Regions from separate parts of the Homo sapiens genome. Here region 2 is linked to region 1. The links are contacts of gene promoters, found by promoter capture Hi-C in blood cells and fetal thymus (Javierre and others, 2016). All regions are on one chromosome and are shown on one strand. The core of a region is centred on a gene start or on the middle of the fragment in contact, and the rest is flanking DNA. Distances in the headings are between cores, read along the strand shown.

Region 1 (6,311 bases), core at 2,520-5,019:
CCCCGCAATTCTGGGCACTGGGTGTGCGCGGCGGCGGCTGCGGTTATTCATTATTAATGACGCTGCCTGCCCGCATCATTATGATGATAACTATTACTATTGTTGTGATTCCGAGCTCCGAGGCGAGAGGGGGGGTGTCGGGCTGCAGAGCCGCCCAGCAAGCCAGCCGAGGCCACCGAGGTCTGTGCTTTGCATGGGGGTGAGGGGGTGGAAGAAGTGAGGCTGGAGACCAAGTGCAAACTTGCCATATCCCCCTCTTCGGCCATGCCCCGAAGCCCTAGAGCGCGCACTCCCGGTTCCTCCCTACCAAAAATGCCGGCCCCGAAAGAAAGCGAAAACTGCACCGTGCTCCGAGCCCGGCGCGCGCTGGTCTCAGCTCGCGCACGGGGGTGTCGGCCGCGCGCCCGGTCGCTTCTCCGCGGCCCCGGCCAGAAGCATTTTTAAAGTCAAAATGAAGAACAAAGACATACGGGGTGATGGGGGAGAGAAAGGGAATTCTGCCTAACCGTTCTTTCCCCCCACCCCCACCCTCGCAAAGCTCGTTCCTCCCCGGACGAGAATCGCCGGGCAGGAGGTGGGGGAGGCTCTGGTACAGGTTCAAGTTCGCTGAGCTTTCTTGATCTTGTTCTGCCTCCTAGCGACCGAATGGCTCATTCAGCCCACATAGCAGAGGCGGGGGGCGGGGGGGTGGTACTGAGGACCGGGATGGCTCCTGCCCCCTCTGAGCACCCAGAAAATGAGGACAGAAAGAAGTGGCCCCCTCACCCCCTCCCAAACTGGCCCTTTAACCCCGGGACAGGAGGAGGGGGTACTAACCCTCCCAGCCTAGAGTGTCCCAAGATGGACCCAGGAGGGAGAGGGGTACGAGGGAGCAGCCTGGACTGCGCGCCCCGGTCTGTCCTTTGAGCCCCCACTGCATCCTTCCGAAGAAGGGCCTGACTTTCCCGAGTCCTGCGAACACTGCCCTTCCTTCCCGCCGGTACCTGGCCGGGCTGTAACTTCACACCGCCGCGCGCCGCGTCTGATCCGCATCCGGCGCGGCCGGGGGAGTTGGGGGCGGGGGAGAGCGGCGAGGGAGGGATGCGAGGGGGTGGGGAGAGGGAGGGCCGCGCAACGTGCCGGGGTGGGGGAGCTTCCGAAGTGTGTGACAAGTTCCAGGGCCCAGTGAAAAATTAAATTCCCTGTGCGCACCCCCCACCACCACCCCTTTAAAAAAACACAGAACCAAGTATAGGTGGTCCTTTAAAACTGCATCAAAAATTTAAAGTAAGAATCATAAATTGAGTAGGGGGGGAATGTGGGCCCTCACGCCTTTCTTTCCCTTGCTGCCAAACTTTCCTAAGTGCCCACCGCCCGCCTTTCCAGGCGCAGTCAGCGGGAGACAGCCACCACCACCAGCTCTTATACAGACTCACAAGAACCTCAGACCAAGCCAGGCCTGGGGAAGAGGGCAAGACCCAAAGGGTGAAGTGCTCGGGGTCCCAGGATCCAGCGCCCTTAAAATGCACACTCAAACACACTTCTCCCCTGCCCTTCCCCGGCAACCCCGCCACCTGGCCTAGTCGTGCTCGGGGCGCAGGGGGACTGGTGACCAGACCGGGCGGGGTGGGGGGTGGGCAGGGAAAGCACGTGGTGACCTCCTCGCGGTCCCGAGCTGTGGACAAGAGACGTCTGAGAAAGTACCCAGGGCGGAGGGGAGGGGAGGCGCAGAACGCGCTTTTACAGTTGCCCTGCAAAATAAAAATGCTTTGCAAAGCCGAGTTTCACCCAGCCGATTTCGCAGTCTGGGAGGTCGAGAAGAGGTCTCGGCATTGTGCTGGGGGCGGACCAGGACCACGGGCCAGGCTGGCGCGGAGACACTGCGTGGCCTGCCGCCGTGCCTGGCGGGTGGGCGCCGGGCGCCGGGTGGGCGATCCGGGGCTGGGCTGGGGCGCGGCGAGGTCGGGCAAGGCCCGGGCGAGGCCAGGCCGCCGCCGCCGCCTGCTCCGGGGCTGCCGCGCCGCGCTCGGTCCTCTGTCTGTTTGTTGGCAGGAGGCTCCCGCACACGCGGTGCTTGTAAACATTCAGACACGAGATTTTTCCCAATCAAAATCCACTTCCACTTTTTTTGAAAATCTTCCAAAAAATAGTAAGAGGAGGGAGTTCCTCTCTCCCTCTCCGTGCCGTCGGCGCCCTAAGTTTGCAACTGAAGGGGTTTGGGGGAAGAGGGTGATTGTAAATTTTTTTCTAGATGAGAGATTGTGAGATTTTTGCAGGGGGGCTGGTGGGGGAGTCAAAGAGAAGGCCGTCACAGAAAAGGGTTGGCAGAGCGTTTGGCTTCGGTTTGGGGGCAAGAAATTGTACATTCTCTTGCCTTGTTTTATTTATTTTATTTTTATGTATTTATTTATTTATGTGCCAGTCTTCTCCTTGCTGCCTCTGAGGTTCGGTCGGGAGGGGAGGGCAGCGGCAACCCAGGAGGCAGCAGTCCGGGCTCCCTCCCTCCCTCTCCCGCGTGCCCCCGGCCGCCTCCTCCCCCGGCCCTAGCTCCTGCCCTTCGGCGGCGGCGGCGGCGGCGGCGCGGGAGGGCAAGCGCGAGGAGCCGGCACAAAAGGCAGCGGGACAAACACCCACCTCTGGCCGGAACAAAAGGCGGCAGTGCCGGCCGCGTCTCCCGTCCTTCCCGGTCCCACGGCTCTCCCCGTCGCCGCGGCCCCTCTCCCGACTCCGCGGACTCAGGAGCGCCGGGGGCCCCTTTCCACAGTGCCACTTTCTCACTATTGTGGGGATGACTACTTTCCTCCCGCTGCACACTTGACCGTGAGCGCGCTGGTGTCCAAAAGCCAGTCTCACCTCTTTTCTCCCCGGGAATCGTTTTTTAGACTTGTACTCACTCCCTCCCTACCCCCCCATTTTCTTACGGTGAGTGGGAAGCAACCTCCCTTTCCCCACCAGCTCCCACCCCCAGGTTTGCATGTGAGTTGTTCGCAACCTTAGCATTGTTCATTATTTTGCAAAACTGGCGGGGCGGGGGGGGAGTGGAATCATTGCATTCCTTTTCGAAAAGAGAAATAAAGCGGCGGAAAGGAGGAAAGAGGAGGAGTCAAATTTTTGTAAAATTAAATAAAATTAAAAGGTGCGTGCTGTCTCAAAAGTGCATACACGGCAATGGTTCCAGATGGGATGAGGGTTTTTTCCCCCTTTATCTCTTTTACCTCGACTCTCGGAGGTTTTTCTCGTGAAAAATTTAAAAATGCATGCACACACCCCTCTCTCCCCCTCGCTTTTGCTTCTAGTCCTGCGCGCTCTCGTGATTATTAATAATTATTATTACTATTATTGGGTTACTTACGCGAGAATTCCCGTTTGCTTAAGTGCTGGGGTTTGCCTTGCTTGCGGCGAGACATGGTGGGCTGCGGGGCGGGCGGCGGCGGCGGCGGCGGCGGCGGCGGGCGGACGACGGCTCGGTTCACATCGGGAGAGCCGGGTTAGAAAGAAGGAGACTCCAGAGAAAATATCTTCATCAGTGCCTTTTGACATCCAAAATAAATTAGAAATAATACAAAGATGGCGCAGGGAAGATGAATTGTGGGAGAGCCGTCATGGCTTTTTTTTAAGCAAAAAAAAAAAAAAAAAAAAAAAAAAAAAGAGGGAGAGAGAGAGAAGAGAGATAGAGGGAGAGAGAGAGAGAGAGATGAAAAAAATGGCAAAAGCCCCCCTGAGCTGCAAGTTCAAGTGCGGACGTGACGTCCCTGCGAACTTGAACGTCAGGAGTCTGGATGGACAGAGACACACAAAACATGGGCAGGGCGAGCAGGAGAGAAGGGGAGGAGGGAAGGGGAAGCTCACACCAATGGACACACATCAGGGGCTGGACATGAAAAAGAGACCAGGACAAGCCAATGGCCAGTGCGGGGAGGGGGAGGTGCGGGGCGGGGGGCTCCGCGGACGCCAGACGCGGCCCCCGGGGGAGGGGCGGGCCGAGGGGAGGGGGCGCTGGGGCCGCGGGCTCACCAGTGGCCGCAGCGAGCGCCGCGGCGGTGGCGTGGCCGGGAGAGAAGAAAGGGGTGGCAGGGGTGGGAGGAAAGGGTGGGGGGGAGCAAGACGTGCGCCCTGCTCCCCCCCACACACGCGGACTCTAAAATGAAAGATTATTCAAAAAAGAAAAAAATAGAGCGAGAGTGCACCGGGAGGCTGCAGCCCCGGGCTGGGGAAGCGCGGGCGGAGGGAAGCCAGGTAGAGTTGCTCCCGGACACCCTCCTCCGTACGCACACCCACTTCCCCTCCCCGCCGCCGCCGCGCTCGCTCCCCGCGTGTGGACGCCAGGGGCCGAAGTAAAAGCCCCGAGCCCGCGGCTGCGCTCGGGAAACTTTGCCCGAGGAGAGGACAGCAAAGAAAAATCACCCGAAGTTGAGAGCTGAGCCTCCAAGTTACAGCTCCGCAGCGGGCGAGGGGAGGTGGGAGGGAGCGCACGGCAACGCGGAATCCAGCCTAAGTTTGGAGGGCTGCGGGTCCGGAAGGGCAGCGCCCAAGTCTCCAGGAGCCCGCGCGGCCTGGAAAGAGGGGACCGGGGAGAGGCAGGCGGCGCAGGCCGGGGCCCGAGGGCGCCCCCAAGGCCGAGCCAGGGACCGGGAATCTGAGCGCCCCGCCAAGCGACTGGGTCTGAATGCAACTGAAAGCGCCGAGTCCCCGGCTCCTAAGGGTCGCAGAAAGAGAGCCCGAGGAATAAAGAACGAGGAGCCAGAGTCTGGCCCCCGGAGGGGAGCGCCGGGGGCCTGGGCAAGAGAGGCACCGAGGCGTCCACCTCTCTGAGAGGCCGAGGACAAAGCGCGGGCAGTCCCGGGAGTCCCAGTCCCTGGGAATGTGCTCACGGCGCCGCGGGAGGTCCCCGAGCCGGGTCCCTGGGAGGGACACACCCCCTCCCACTCCAGAGCAACTGCAAAAGCACAGAGGGATGGGAAGAAAATGTTTCTTACGGGCAGAGCACAACTGTTCCTGTGCTGTTACCCAGGGAAAGAGAAAATGGGAATGGAGAGAGAGCGACAGGCTCGCAGGAGCAGCGGGGAGACCACGGTGGTGAGATGACCGCCTCGGGTCACCGCCGCGCTCCCCAGGCGCCGCCGGCCAAGGCGCACACCCAGGAGCCAGCAGCCCCCTCTCGCCTTTCTGCAGACGTTCCCTGGAAATTAGGGAAGACCTGTTGGAAATAAAACCCTGTCTCTTTAATGCACACACGCACACACACGCGCGTGCTGCCGCTGTCAAAAAGCGGGCTTCACTCTGGCGTGGGATACTTTCAGTTTTACGTAAAATGTACAGCAACAGCACCCCCTGCGATTGGAAAGTTTATTCAGAAACGTGCCTGTAAAGTCCCCTGGCGCCTCCCGCCTCCCAGCCTCCCTGCCTGCCAGCACCACTCTGCAGCCGCCGCCGCCGCCGCCGGGGAGATCGCAGTCCGATTCCAAATCTGGAAGGAGTTGGGGGGAGAGGAGAATGGACTCAGGTCCAAGGGAGGTGCGGAGGGTGCAGGGTGGAGACGGGTCGCCATGGCCCGCGAGACCCTGAGCTGCAGGTGGATATGTGTGAGTGTGTCTGCAGAGCGAGGAGCCCTCCTTCCCTCTCCTCGGAGCGGTTCCACAACCCCCGTCTTCTCATCCCCCTCTTCAGTCTAAAGGGTGTCGCTTCCGTAAACTCACCCACCCGGTGGGGGGGCTTTATTGTTTTAAGCGAGGGCCCCGGGCTTGCACGCGCTCACCCATCCCGCAGCCCTGCCGGCAAGCGGCTGTTTATTCCTGTTTCGTCTTAGTAAAGTTTCAAGTCTACTGTGTTAGAAAATGACTGGCTTGCCTAGCTCGGCGGAGCTTCGGACCCCTCTAAGGAAGAAAAGGAGGTTTTGATGCTCAACATTGAGAGAGATGTGGGCTGTACTGGGATTGTGTCAATGTGGTTTGTTGTTTGTTGTTGTTTCCCTCCAGTTTGTGGGAGGGAGACCTCAAATTCTGTTTAAGAAGCGGGAGGATTCACTAGAAGTTAAGCTCTGTAGCTTGTGTGTGACACCATTTCCCCTTTTCACTGAGTTCTTCAGAGCAGGTCAGCATCTCTATTCCACCACAGTCTGCTTTTTGTCTTGTTAAACCAGCCTTGGAGTCACCAAAAGAATGTCTTCTTGGGGGGTGGCGGGGGAGGACGACGTGGGGGACGGTTGGAGGGAAGGTGAAGAGAGGGAAGAAGAAAGTGCAACTGGGAGGCCTTTGAAAAATAAATAAATAAAAGAAAAGCCCCTTCAGGTAACAATAGTGAGCCAGATTCTTTCAGAACCAAGCTTTTCAGAT
Region 2 (5,640 bases), core at 2,033-4,532, 1.1 Mb before region 1:
AGTTTTCTTACAACAGCCCAAATGGATTAAGATATTGCATATGAAATTTAAAAAGCACTTTTTCTCTCCAAAACCAGCTATTGTTCCCTTTTATATAACATTTTATACTTAAAAACAATGTCATTTTTATCTATAATTGAGTTTGAAACATATAAAATGAATATTTGTAAACTCATTATTTGACTTAAAAACTAAAACATTAATAATGCCATTGCTTTTACATGAAGGTCTTCCTCACCTTACTCTCATCTTCCCACTATTCTGAGTTTTATGTTCATTATTCCCTTACTTTAAAAAATTAGTCTTAGTTCACATGTGCATAATACCAAAATACTACATATTAACTATTTCTCGTTAAGCTTTATAAAAATGGTATAATACTGAATAAAGTATTTTATGGCTTGATTTGATCAGTAAATATGTTTTTAGGATTCATATTCTTGCTGGGTACAGCTATTGTTTATTCACTTTCATTGCTTTATAATATTCCATTTTGTGTATATATCATAAATGATTTATGTATCAAATTAGACTGCTAGAGCTGCCATAACAAAATACTGCAGACTGGGTTGCATAAAAAATAGAAATTTATGTTCTCAAAGTTCTGAAAGCTGGAAGTCCAAGATTAAGGTTCTGGCAGGGTTGGTTTCTAGTGAGGTTTTTTTCTTGCTAGATTTCAGAAAGCTGTCCTCGTTGTGTCCTTACATGGCCTTTCCTCTGGGCACACCCCTGGTGTCTCTCTCTTCTTATAAGAACCAGTCCTGTTGGATTAGAGCCCTACTTTTATGATCTTATTGAATTTTAATTCCTTCTTAAAGCCTCAGTCTCCAAATATAGTTACACTGAGTGACAGGGCTTCAACACATGGATTTTAGGGGACACAATTAAAGGCATAAAATGTATTGTCTTCTTGAAGGAATTAGGGTTTGTCCCAGGTTTTTGCTCCAGTAATCAATGCTTCCCTGAACATCCTTGTACATATCTCCTGGGACTAAAGAGTGAGACTTTCTCTAATTCACATAACTGGACATGGAATTGCTGGTCCACAGGCATGAAAATGTTTAAATTCACATACTGGTATCAAATAATTTTCCAACATGGTTGTATCAAGTTTTAGTTCCACCAGCAGAGTCTATGCATTCTCAAGGGTCCGTGTCCTTACCACTAATAGTTATTACCAAACATCTTAATTTTTTCCAAACTAATGAGCATAAAATGTATCTTACGAAGGTCTGTAACATTATTTCCTAAATTATAAAGAATTATTATCATTTTTCATTTGTTTATTCCAATTTGTGTCCTACTTCCTGTAAACTTGCTATTTTATTGTATTTTCCTTTTTTTTCTGTAGTTTTGTTCTCTTTTCATTCTGTTAGTAGACATTTTCTCTACATTTTGTATAAAAATTATTTGCTGGGCTGGGCACGGTGTCTCACGCCTGTAATCTCAGCACTTTGGGAGGCCAAGGCGGGCAGATCACAAGGTCAAGAGATGGAGACCATCCTGGCCAACTTGGTGAAACCCCGTCTCTACTAAAAATACAACAATTAGCTAGGCATTGTGGCGGGTGCCTGTAATCCCAGCTACTCAGGAGGCTGAGGCAGGAGAATTGTTGGAACCCAGGAGATAGAGGTTGCAGTGAGCCGAGATCGCACCACTGCACTCCAGCCTGATGACATAGCTACTCAGTCTCAAAAAAAAAATTATTTCCTGATCATTATATTATTAATATCTTCTTATAATTTGTATCTTGTCATTTTACTCACACTTGACGGACCAAAATTTTAAATTTTAATGCAATCAAACTTATCACTTTTTTTTCCCCAGAGTTTGGTACTTGTTGTATACTGTTCAAAAATTCTTCCCTGCCCTAAGGTGATAAAGATATTCTTTGTGTGTTGTATTTCTTTAAGCCCTTTATTTCAACCCCACTGCAAAAACAAAACAAAACCACTTAATTTTAGCTTTTACAAAATCCTCCCCTCATTTGTGTCACAAATATTTTAGATGAAATATATAAATTGCTGGTTTGAATAAGTTATTTTTGCTCATTTTCTTAGCACCTGCTGGTGGAAATACTATGATAAACTGGATATGGTCCTTGTTCTCAAGATGCTTAATGTCTAACCCAGGAAAGCATGGGTAGAAGCATAATACTAGAGCATATTGTTAGGGTTATAAATAAGAAGGCCCCAAGATCCTAGAACTCTAATTACCTTTAAAGTAATTTAAATCTGAAATTTATTGGATTTATACAATATGTAAAATAATCTTATTTCTCCAAAAACCTTATGAGATTTTTTCCTGTACTGATGTATTTTTAAAATGGCAAAACCACTCTGTATCTTGGAAAGGTGACCTCACTTGCTCTGAAGGACCTGGCCAGCAAGGCGCACATTAGGATTTGATTTAAGGCTGTCGGCTCCCTGAGGCCTTCCACGATATTCCTGCTCCTTCTCCCCCTCCTCATTAAGGAGGGAGCTAAAGCAGGGTAGGACATAAGAGAATTAACTAGGGCTGTGGCATTGGAAATAGGCCTTAAAAGATGGGAAGATTTCAGAAGTCAGTGAAGAGGGTCTTCAGAATGGATTAGTCAGAGAGCTGGTAAGGTGCATGTCCAATTTTGGAGACAGCACATTGTGACAAGTCATCCTTTTTTCAGAAGATGTTGGAATTATAGATACAGGAGTGAGAGGGAAAGGAATATCATTCCAATGACACTACCATAGTCTATAGCAGCAGTCTCTAATCAGGGACCAGTTTCATGGAAGACAATTTTTCCATGAATGGGGGTTGGGGGACAGTTTCGGGATGAAACTGTTCCACCTCAGATCATCAGGTATTGGATTCTCCTAAGGAGCGTGCAACCTAGATCCCTCACATGCACAGTTCACAACAGGGTTAATGCCTATGAGAATCTAATATCACCACTGATCTGACAGGAGGTGGAGCTCAGGCAGTAATGCTCGCTGTCCAGCCAATCACCTCCTGCTGCCTGGTTTGTAACAGGCCACGGACTGGTACCAGTCCTGAGCCCAGGGATTGGCTACCCCTAGTTTATAGGGCACCCCAGCTTCCCTCAATTCTCTTGTCTCAGCTCTCTGTTCTACTTCAGTCTCCCTGGCCTCCTGGCTGCTCCTGAACAGGCTGAGCACAGCCCTGCTTTAAGTACGGTGCGCTTGCTTAACACTTTTCCTTGAATGCTTTTCCCCGTTGGCCTAGAATACATCCTCCTTCCTGTTGCTTGGGCACATACTTAAATGTAACTATTGCAGAGGCTTCTCCTAATTATCTCATCTAAAACAGCAAATCCTCTCTCTCTCTCTCTATCTCTATCCTATACTCTGCTTTAGTTTTCTTCATAGTACTTACTACTAGCCAAGATAGTGTTGTATCATTATTTCCTAACTTATCATTCACTAGGCAAGAGCTCTGGATGACTTTTTAATCTTACCATATCCCCCGTGCCTAGATTTTGCCTGGTGCATAATGTATGATTCACAAATATGTGTTGAATAAATGAAATAACAGAATGAATGATAAATGAATGACTGAATGAATAAATGATGGGCATGAAGGTACTACCAGAAGTTTTAAAGGTTGTGGTATGAACCATGGTTTTGTAAGCAGTCTGTGGCATAAATATAAAGAGGAATAGGAGACACAGGACAAAGAAATCAGAAAGATCATTTATGAAGGTTTTATAATAGCTGGTGGGGAGCCTGGAAGGGGAGAGCCTAGCGGTTCACAGCCTCATTTTGGTGCCAGAGTTCAAATCCCAGTACTAAGGCCTCCTAGCTGAGTAACTCTGGGAAAGTCACTGAGACTTTCTGCCTCCCTCTTTGTCTGTAAAGTGAGGATATATTATCACCTGATTTAGAGGACTGTTGGACAGCTTAAATGAAGTAATGCATTGATTAAATGATTCATAAATAAGTAGTGGCCATCAGTGATAATAAACAAATAAGCTAGGGCAATGTCAGTGGGAACTGAGGAAGGAAATGAGTAAAGAGACATTGAGTAGGAAGGACAAGAAGGCCTTGAGATAACATTGAAATAAAATACCTGAAAAAGACTCAGATTTCTGTTCTGCCTATGGATAATGACAATAACTTTAAGTGAAATCCAGCATGCAGATAAGGAATTAGATCTTAAGTATGTCAGAAGGTAGAAATAGGAAGTAGCACAAAGAGTGAGCTTTGTTTTGCAATGTTTGAGTTGAGATGTACCCACTAATTTTACACGGAGATGTCTAACAAAGATGGAAATGTATATTAAAGGGTGATGACAAACTTTAAGAAGTTATTTTTTTCTGTTCTACAGAAAGATTTCCAATAGAATTTGCGTAGCTTTCTTCCCTTTGTATTTGAAATATGTCTAACTTGGATATTACTGTCTCTCTAAGTTGTATTACTCTAACAAGTATTTTACAATTTCTGCAGCATTCTATGCGTAAGCTCAAAGTTTAACAGGTCAAACTCTATGACCTGACACCTATTCCTAACCCTGTCCCTATGCCTGCTCCCAACCTTTCACTACTGAGGAACTGAATAAAGGATCCTCTGGTCCCATGTAGATTCTGAAGACCTGATTTAAATGTATTACAGAGCTGAACAAAATAGACGTGGAAGGAGCCACCAAGAGGATATGAACAACCCTCCAATTTGCAAACCAGAAAGCTCTGGTTTACCACCCTCAATTTTAACCACATACATTCCTATTCAGACAAAACAGCATGCTCATAGTCATTCAAAAAGCAAAAAAGGGATTGTTAGAAATCTGTAATAAATGTATGTGAGACAGAAAATTAGAAAATGGCCACCTGCCAGCGGCCCCATAAATTTTGGAGGAAATGCATTTTCTACTGGGATGCTTTATCACAGGAATTGCAAATATTTATTAAAAGTATTAAAATAGTCAGAATGTTAAATGCTTCCTCCAGTGGTGAAATTTCACATTGCCACATTAGAAGATGGGATATTCTGATACAGCGTTTATTAAACTGACTTCATTTTATTAGTCTGTCATCTACAATAAATGGGCAGGTACCTTTAAAGCAAGATCTATTATAAATAAAAGAGATGTGGGGAAGGAGCAGCATCTCATTGTGTGAATGGCATTGACTATGTAAGTACTTATCTTGTAACCTTTCCCAAAGGAGGCCACAAGATTTTTGTTGTTCTAGTATATTTTTGTTGCTTGTTGGATTTTGTTATCACATGAAAATCAAAAGTAGTGTTTGCTACTAATGTTCATGCTCTCTCATGCAAGGTACAGTTGAAAACTATTTGAATGGTTAGTGCTTCATGGGCTCTCAGATGTAATTACCAAACATATCTAAGTAAAGATGCTAAATGGACTCCAAATGAACTGAAGATAGAAGGAGGCAGACGAACTTATTGCACAAGGATAATAGAGATGACAGCCAGAGTACATCATTACTGAGTGACACTAAGTTGAAGGGTGACAGGATGAGCTGGACAGATTACCTCCCTAAGAGGCTTGTGGCTCGTGCAAGGCACTGACCTAATAAAGATCTTATGCTATCACCCAGAAAAGATAGAAAGAGCCTTTTCCCATCATAAGACACTCTTCTGTGTAGGTCACAAAATTTTCCCCAAGTTCATCCCATGAAAATGC

What was found. Contacts are between HindIII fragments. The CHiCAGO score rates a contact against its expected background, and 5 or more counts as called.
Region 2: a fragment that was not itself captured here is called in contact with the fragment with the promoter of BCL11A in region 1 in 1 of 17 cell types (total B cells); the score reaches 6.2 in total B cells.

What each region holds. Positions count from the first base shown.
Region 1 is chr2:60,549,885-60,556,195 of GRCh38, forward strand. BCL11A (BCL11 transcription factor A) reads right to left here and starts at 3,770. Exons shown (of 4, transcript NM_022893.4): 1 at 3,332-3,770. The coding sequence starts at 3,386. RefSeq lists enhancers at 1-430, 51-100, 431-1,203, 5,030-5,079, 5,654-6,262 and silencers at 1,531-1,840, 1,901-1,960, 2,481-2,840, 4,250-4,339, 5,280-5,409. The HindIII fragment of the contact is 6,342 bases long and covers 1-6,299 here.
Region 2 is chr2:59,442,533-59,448,172 of GRCh38, forward strand. No RefSeq gene overlaps it. Among named protein-coding and RNA genes, the nearest start is that of LINC01793, 230 kb to the left of the region's middle. The HindIII fragment of the contact is 5,851 bases long and covers 358-5,640 here.